Linked DNA regions of Homo sapiens: region 2 is linked to region 1. Evidence: promoter capture Hi-C in 16 types of primary human blood cells and fetal thymus (Javierre and others, 2016). All regions are on one chromosome and are shown on one strand. The core of a region is centred on a gene start or on the middle of the fragment in contact, and the rest is flanking DNA. Distances in the headings are between cores, read along the strand shown.

What was found. Contacts are between HindIII fragments. The CHiCAGO score rates a contact against its expected background, and 5 or more counts as called.
Region 2: a contact is called between a fragment that was not itself captured here and the fragment with the promoter of GMEB1 in region 1, in 3 of 17 cell types (M2 macrophages, naive B cells and monocytes). The highest score is 7.3, in M2 macrophages.

The regions. Positions count from the first base shown.
Region 1 is chr1:28,666,558-28,670,838 of GRCh38, forward strand. It overlaps GMEB1 (glucocorticoid modulatory element binding protein 1), which reads left to right and starts at 2,227. Exons shown (of 10, transcript NM_001319674.2): 1 at 2,227-2,282. RefSeq lists silencers at 2,199-2,338, 2,369-2,478, 2,489-2,778 and enhancers at 3,309-3,358, 3,409-3,468. The HindIII fragment of the contact is 26,935 bases long and covers 1-4,281 here.
Region 2 is chr1:29,022,272-29,026,613 of GRCh38, forward strand. The region is part of intron 7 of EPB41 (erythrocyte membrane protein band 4.1); the gene reads left to right. Among named protein-coding and RNA genes, the nearest start is that of TMEM200B, 99 kb to the right of the region's middle. The HindIII fragment of the contact is 1,236 bases long and covers 1,643-2,878 here.

The DNA of each region.
Region 1 (4,281 bases), core at 977-3,476:
TCGAGATCATCCTGGCCAACACGGTGAAACCCCGTCTCTACTAAAAATACAAAAAATTAACCAGGCGTGGTGGCTCGTGCTTGTAGTCCCAGCTACTCGGGAGGCTGAGGCAGGAGAATCGCTTTAACCTGGGAGGCAGCCAAGATCGCACCACTGCACAGACCGAGACTCCGTCTCCAAATCAATCAATCAATAAACAAACAATTATGGTGGCTCACACCTGTAATCCCAGCACTTTGGGAGGCCAAGGCAGGAGGATTGCTTGAGCCCAGGAGTTAGAGACCAGAGTGGGCAACATGGTAAAACCCCATTTCTACTAAAAATGTAAAAATTAGCCAGGCATGGTGGTTCCTGCTTGTGGTCCCAGCTACTCCGGGGGCTGAGGCAGGAGGACTGCTTGAGCACTGGAGGCTGGGGCTGCAGTGAGCCGAGATCCCGCCACTGCACTCAGCCTGGGAGATCAACCCAGACCGGTCCCCCCCACCAAAAAAAAGAAAAAAAGAAAGAAAAGAAAAGAAGGGCCGGGCGCGGTGGCTCACGCCTGTAATTCAACACTTTGGGAGGCTGAGGCGGACGGATCACAAGGTCAGGAGATCGAGACCATCCTAGCTAAGACGGTGAAACCCTGTCTCTACTAAAAAATACAAAAAAATTAGCCAGGCGTAGTGGCGGACGCCTGTAGTCCTAGCTACTGAGGAGACTGAGGCAGGAGAATGGTGTGAACCCAGGAGGCGGAGCTTGCAGTGAGCCGAGATTGCGCCACTGCACTCCGGCCTGGGCGACAGAGCAAGACTCCGTCTCAAAAAAAAAAAAAAAGAGAAACTTACTTAGTAGGGTTGCTGTGAGGATTATACAAGACAGAAGCATCTTCACCAAGCCATAGGCCATAGAAAGGTCTTTTTGTTTGTTTGTTTTTTGAGATAGAGTCTCACTCTGTTGCCCAGGCTGGAGTGCAATGGCCTGATCTCGGCTCACTGCAACCTCCGCCTCCCGGGTTCAAGTGATTCTCCTGGCTCAGCCTTCTGAGTAGCTGGGACTAGAGGCGCGTGCCACGACGCCCGGCTAATTTCTGTATTTTTAGTAGAGACGGGGTTTCACCATGTTGCCCAGGCTGGTCTCGAACTCCTGGTCTCAAGTGATCTGTCCGCCTCGGCTTCCCAAAGTGTGGGATTACAGGCGTAAGCCACCACACCTGGCCATAGAAAGGTCTTAATACGGCCGGGCGCGGTGGCTCACGCCTGTAATCCCAGCTCTTTGGGAGGCCCAGGCGGGTGGATCATGAGGTCAGATATTGAGACCATCCTGGCCAACATGGTGAAATCCTGTCTTTACTAAAATACAAAAAAAAAAAAAAATTGCCGGGCGTGGTGTCGCGCGCCTCTAGTGCCAGCTCTTCGGGAGGCTGAGGCCGGAGAATCACTTGAACCCAGGAGGCTGAAGCTGCAGTGAGCCGAGATCGCGCCACTGCACTCCAGCCTGGCCAAAGAGCAAGACTCTGTCTAAAAAAATAAATAAATAAATAAAAAATAAAGGTCTTAATACTTGTTAATTACTATTACTGACCCCAGGAACTCTCTGAAGCACTTTTCATGCAGGTATCACCTTCTTTAGCACTCACATTATGTCTTATCGGAAACAGGTTTAGAGCTGTCAAGAAATTCCTCCAGAGTCGTTTACACTTCCAGCAGGGGAGTCAAGACTTCAACCCAGAAACTCACAAGCAGGAAAAACTTGGCAAACAGGCACGGGTCAGACAATGCTTAGGGCTTGCTCAAGGACTCGTGACCAGTTACTGATCTATGCAGATCTTCTGATTGCAAACTGATAGCTGGATTGTAACTTGAAGGGTCCGATAAGATGTAAACTTCATAAAACAGGATTTGGGGAGGTAAATGGAGTAGAGTCCTCCAGAGGAGTCGAGAAAGCTAGCTTGGCCCTCAATTGTGGTTGAGGTGATTCTTTCATTTAGGGCCTATTTTCCTCATCTATGAGTGCGGGAAGGAGAGTTACTGGGGTCTCTAGCGACCTTTCCAACACTGATTTTCAAGGGCGAAAGAATTCTGCTTAGGTAAGGCCCAAATCCCTTGGCTAAGGTTAATCCTCGGTGGGACCGGCAATAGGGACGCGTCCCCTTTAAGGCGCCAGCTCTCCGGCGGCGGCGGCCGGAAGTGTTGAAGCCCGGCCTGGCGGCGGCGGTGGCGGTAGCTGCCGTGGCGGCCTCTGCGCATGCTCCGTCGCCTGCCCGCCCTGGCCGCTCGCCGCCCGCCCGCCCGACGGAGACGGTGAGGAGGGGGAGGGGTGGGCGCGCGGGCGCGGGGTGGGGTGGGGGCGGGGGGGCGGGCGCGGGGGCCGCGCGGCGGCCGGCGAGGGCGGGCGGGCGCGCAGGGGGCGGGGGGCTGCTGCCTCCGCGGGCGCCTCCCCACGCCCTGTGCGTGCCGCCGCCGCCGCCGGGGAGCGAGCGGACGTCGCGGCGCCGCGGGGGGGTGGGGGGACGCTGCCGCTGGGTCCGCCCGAGCCGCCGGGCCGCCCCCAGCGCAGCCGGCCGCGCCGCCGGGGCTCGGGCCCCAGACCAGGGCGGCGGGAACCGGCGAGTCCACCACTGGGGGGGCCCCGGCGCCCCCGGACCGAGGGGCCCGGAAGTACTCGGCTCAGGGGCCAGGAGGGGCCGGAGTGACTCCGGACTGAGAGGGCCAGGCGCCCAGGACCCCATCGAGGGGTCCGGGGAGCCTGGGGTATCCCCAAAGGCGGGGTCCGGGGAGCACCGGGCCCTTGGATGAGGAGCTGGTTGGAGGCCTGGGTCCTGCCCAGTGGGAGGGGGACGATAGGTGCTGGAAGCCCGGATGCCCGCCTGGGAGGAGACCCTCTCGGAGCCTTGGCGGGAGAGCAAGAGTACAGAGTGGGTTCTTCTGAGGAGAGCAGAGTCCAGCTTATCCCGAGGGGCGCGGTAGAGGCCTCGGCCACTCAGAACAAGGGAAAAAAGGGCAGGTTTTTTCCAAAGGCAGGGAAGGAAGAGGAGCTCTAAGGGGAAGTGAGCAGGCCCAGGTCTCCCCACAGATGAGCGCGTGGTAGGAAGACTCCTAGAGCCTCCTGAAGTACGAAAGAGCAGCGTCCAAACCTGAGGGGATGGAAGGTGTCTAGGTGCCTCTTGATGTCTAGGTGGAGAACAAAGTAACCCGCTCGGTCAGGGGATGGAGAAACCTATCTTTTTGAGAGAAGCAGAGATCGTTGAGGAAAGATGCTTAAGGTGTTCCCGCTTTCTGAAATGACAGGAATTGGCCAGGTGTTATCTAATTGAGGGGCAGGAGAGATGAAGGCAAAATCTCAACCCGAGGGTCTTTGGAGGATGATCCACAAGACAAGAGGGTGAAGTCTTGACCTAGACAGCAGAGCAGGCGCAGCCCTGGATTCTCTCAAGATGAGAGAAATCTCAAAACCACTTCCTAGTAGACACAGATGGGGCCTTGATTGGTGTCTGTTTAGGCCAATCAAGACGGGTTTTAGGAAAAGAGACTGTCAGACATAATTCTAGTCTTGAGGGATTATCTTCTTCCTCCTTGCCTCTTCTAATAGTTACCAAAGTGCATTTGGGGACCCTTTTTATTTATTTATTTATTTATTTGTTTTTTGAGACGGAGTCTCACTCTATCGCCCAGGCTGGAGTGGTGGCTCACTGCAACTTCCGCCTCCTGGGTTCAAACGATTCTCCTGCCTCAGCCTCCCGAGTAGCTGGGACTACAGGCGCGTGCCACCACACCAGCCAATTTTGTTGTTGTTGTTGTTGTTGTTTGAGACGGAGTTTCACTCCTGTTGCCCAGACTGGAGTGCAATGGCGCGATCTCAGCTCACTGCAACCTCCGCCTCTTGGGTTCAAGCGATTCTCCTGCCTCACCCTCCCGAGTAGCTGGGGCTACAGGCGCCCGCCACCACACCCAGCTAATTTTTGTATTTTTAATAGAGACGGGGTTTCACCATGTTGGCCAGGCTGGTCTCGAACTCCCAACCTCAGGTGATCCCACATCCTCAGCCTCCCAGAGTACTGGGATTACAGGCGTGAATCACTGCGCCTGGCCCAACCAGGCTAATTTTTTTGTGTTTTTAGTAGAGACGGGGTTTCACCATGTTAGCCAGGATGGTTTCGATCTCCTGACCTTGTGATTCGCCCGCGTTGGCCTCCTAAAGTGCTGGTATTACAGGCGTGAGCCACTGCGCCCGGCGGGGGAAACTTATTCAATGGTTGCACCGTCTCCTAATTTGAGAGCCTTATATCAAGGATGTATATTT
Region 2 (4,342 bases), core at 1,011-3,510, 360 kb after region 1:
GATAGACCAATGGATTTTAATGTAACAGTACAAAAAGTTCATTGATAAGTTTCTACATTTCACATTGAAAATTATCTTTAAGAAACTGCCATTGATATAATAAAAAAAAAAAAAAAAAAAGAAACTGCCATTGATAAGTTTTAGTGTAATACCAGAAAAGAATATTTTAGGCCAGGCGCAGTGGCTCATGCCTGTAATCCCAGCACTTTGGGAGGCCGAGGCAGGCGGATCACAAGGTCAGGAGTTTGAGACCAGCCTGGCCAATATGGTGAAACCCTGTCTCTACTAAAAATACAAAAATTAGCCAGGCATGGTGGTGGGCACCTGTAATCCCAGCTACTTGGGAGGCTGAGGCAGGAGAATCACTTTAACCTGGGAGGCGGTGGTTGCAGTGAGCCAAGATCGTGCCATTGCACTACAGCCTGGGCGACAAGAGCAAGACTCCATCTCAAAAAAAAAGAAAAAAGAGTGTTTTAAATTCATAGTCACCCCTTTTCAAACTACATGTCTGTGTGAGATCAGATTTCTTCACATACTGCCAAATCAATATATTGCAACAGATTGAATGCAGAAGCAGTTGGGAGAATTCAGCTGTCTTCTATGCCAGACATTGAAGAGATTTGTAAATATGTAAAGCAAAGTTACCTTTTCATCACTGTTTCAGAAAATATTGGTATTTTTCAGAAATTATGTTATTTATGTTAAAAAGTAATGGGATTACCATTATTTTATTTTATTTTGAAATGGAGTTTCACTCTTGTCGCCCAGGCTGGAGTGCAATAGTGTGATCTCGGCTCACTGCAATCTCCGCCTGCTTGGTTCAAGTGATTCTCGTGCCTCAGCCTCCCGAGTAGCTAGGATTACAAGTGCCTGCCACCACACTTGGCTAACTTTTGTATTTTTAGCAGAGACAGGGTTTCACCATGTTGGCCAGGCTGGTCCTGAACTCCTGACCTCAGGTGATCTGCCTGCCTTGGCCTGCTAAGGTGCTGGGATTACAGACGTAAGCCACCGTGCTTGGCTGGATTACTGTTACTTTTTAGAAATTTAATAAACATTTTAAATTTTCCTTAGTTAAAACAATTTTAATATAGTGAATACAAATAGCTATAAGCCACATAAAGAAAAGCTCTTGACCGGGCACAGTGGCTCATGCCTGTAATCCCAGCACTTTGGGGGGCCAAGGCAGCCAGATCACCTGAGGTCGGGAGTTCAAGACCAGCCTGACCAACATGGAGAAACCCCATCTCTACTAAAAATACAAAATCAGCCGGGCATGGTAGCACATGCCTGTAATCCCAGCTCCTCAGGAGGCTGAGGCAGGAGAATCGCTTGAACTCGGGAGGCAGAGGTTGCAGTGAACCGAGATCATGCCATTGTACTCCAGCCTGGGCAACAAAAGCAAAACTCCGTCTCAAAAAAAAGAAAAAAGAAAGAAAAGCTCTTTAGGGTCCTCAATAATTTTTACAATAATTGTTAAGAGAATAAAGAGGTCCTGAGATCAAAAAAGTTTGAGAACCACTGAGTTGGGGCAATAGGGCACCATAGTTAAAATCTTGGGCTCTGGAGTTAGCCTTTCTTTAAATTCAGACTCCATTCCTTGTTAACTGTGTGCCTCTTGGTAAGTTACTTAAGCTCTCTAAGCTTCAGTTTTTTCATCTGAAAAATAAGGGCAATAATGTGAATTTTCTAATTGTTAAATCAGAAAATTTATATAAAGTGATTAGTACAATGACAGTATATAGTGAGAGTTCAAATATCTGCTATGATAATAATAATTCTTGGCTGGGCACGGTGGCTCACACCTGTAATCCCAGCATTTTGGGAGGCCAAGGCAGGTGGATCACGAGGTCAAGAGATTGAGACCATCCTAGCCAACATGGTGAAACCCCATCTCTACTGAAAATACAAAAATTAGCTGGGCATGGTGGCGCGCACCTGTAGTCCCAACTACTCTGGAGGCTGAGGCAGGAGAATTGCTTGAACCCAGGAGGCGGAGGTTGCAGTGAGCCGAGATCATGCCACTGCACTCTAGCCTGGGTGACAAAGTAAGACTTCATCTAAAAATAAATAAATTAAAGGCCGAGCGTGGTGGCTCACACCTGTAATCCCAGCACTTTGGGAGGCTGAGGCAGGTGGATCACGAGGTCAGGAGTTCAAGACCAGCCTGGTCAAGATGGTGAAACCCTGTCTCTACTAAAAATACAAAAAATTAGCCGGGCTTGGTGGCACGCGCCTGTAATCCCAGCTACTCCGGAGGCTGAGGCAGAGAATTGCTTAAACCTGGAGGGGCGGAGGTTGCAGTGAGCCGAGATCGCACCACTGCACCCCAGCTGGGCGACAGAGCGAGACTCCGTCTCAAAAAATAAATAAATAAAAAATATAAATAAATATAAATAAAAAAAAATTCTTATCCTCACTTCACAAGTGATGAATGTATGTGTCTTGGTTTGGAGAACTAGTTTTAACCTTTATCAGAATGTAAACCCAATTAGGTGAAACAATCTCAAGGGACAAATGGATATAGTTCAGCTGATATTCTGTTAGAGATGTGGTAGAAATTGAGCAATAATGGATCGCCGTGACCAGAACATTTAGGAGTCTGTCATCTTGGAATTTACTTGCTCCTTTTTGGAAAGATTTGCAACCCTCACAAACCCAAAGGAACAATTTAATTATGTCCAACAACATGGCATTTTAACTAATCCAAAGAAACTTCCACTGAGGCATATGCATTTTACTATGCATTGGAAAGTGCAGTACAAGCACTTCTCAGATAGAAGACAGCCTGCATAAATGGAATCCTTAGTAGTGGCCCTTTGCCCAGACTGGGATTTTAAAGCTATAATTAACACTTTAAATTTACACTAGCAAATCAAGCTTTAAAATTAATTGCCCTCCATTTATTGGTATTAGGAAGGTATGTAAACTTGTCTATTGTCCCCCACTTAATTCTTTGAAATCACAATCCTTAATTAGGAGATATAACAAACATTATTAAAAGGGAGTCACATAACACTGGAACACACCGAATAGCTCTATCCTGATTGCACTTGCTTGAAATAAATGCAGGGAAACTTTATTGTAACTTCTCTTTTTAATGAGCTTTAACCAGTGCCGGAGCTTCCTGGTCAGGTACTTTTGTAAGCTGCAGTACTTACAAGTAGTAAATTATTAGGTGGTACTGAAAAAATTCAAGACAGTACTTTTAATGGTTTAGAGGTATCTAATCTCTTCCCAGCTGGTTTGTTATGACGCTCAAAGGTCTTGGAAATTTTAGGGAAAACCTTGATCATTAAAATTTAAGGCAAAAAATAATTTATTTTGTGATATTAATCTTTCAAATATATGTGTTGTGTTAACATGCACAGATGTCTGTGGGTGGTGAGATTATATATTTTCTATGCTTTTAATGATATTTTCCAAATTTTATACAGTGAATGTGTATGATTTTTATAATCAGATAAAGCTTTCTGGCAACATTAGGTGGGGCAGAGCAAGGTAGTCATCCATGCAGAGGGGCAGTCTGGCTTGGGATATTGAGGCCTAAGCAGAGTGAGGAGTGGGTCCGTGGGTTGGAGGGCAGCCTGGCATGAAGAGTCAGAGCTCAAGTGGATGAGGATGGTAGTCATGTGTGGGCACCTGGTGGTGGGTTTCAGAAGCCAAGCAGAGCAAGAAGGGCATCCATGTGGGGGAAAAGCCTACACAGGATGTGGAGGGCATCCATACAGGGTGGTGCTTGATGCACAGTGTCAAAGCCTAAGCAGGGTGAAGAGATGGTCCCACACCAGCAGTCAGAACCCTGGTGAGGTAAGGAGGACATCCACGTGTGCTGAGTAGCCCAGAATGGGGAATTCAGGGTTCAAGTAGAGTGAGGAGGACATCCACATACAGTAGGGGTTTGTGGCTGCAATGAGAGATTATATGATTATACAGAGGGATTGATCAAATTAGTCAATGTATTCAGGGTAATGGGAGCCAGGTTTCTCACTGTCAGTAAAGTGAGACACAAATTATGGAAAGGGAGAAACTAAAATGAACCCTGTTAGGATATTGCGTTAAAACTGGAGGCTTCAATGTGAACTTGTGGTTTCCAATATATAGATAGGTAGATATAGAAATATAGATGTAAAAAGGTAGATACATACACAGATACATACTCTAACTCTACATTGTGTCAGAAGGAAGTACTGGAAGAATGATGGGAAATGGTCAGAAGGACACAGAATCCAGCTTGGAGAGGTTCCCACTACCAAATCTGGGGCAATTTAAGCATCAAAATAGATAAGGAAAATAATTGATATACTGCATTGAATAAAATGAAAATTCGTGAGTCCATACT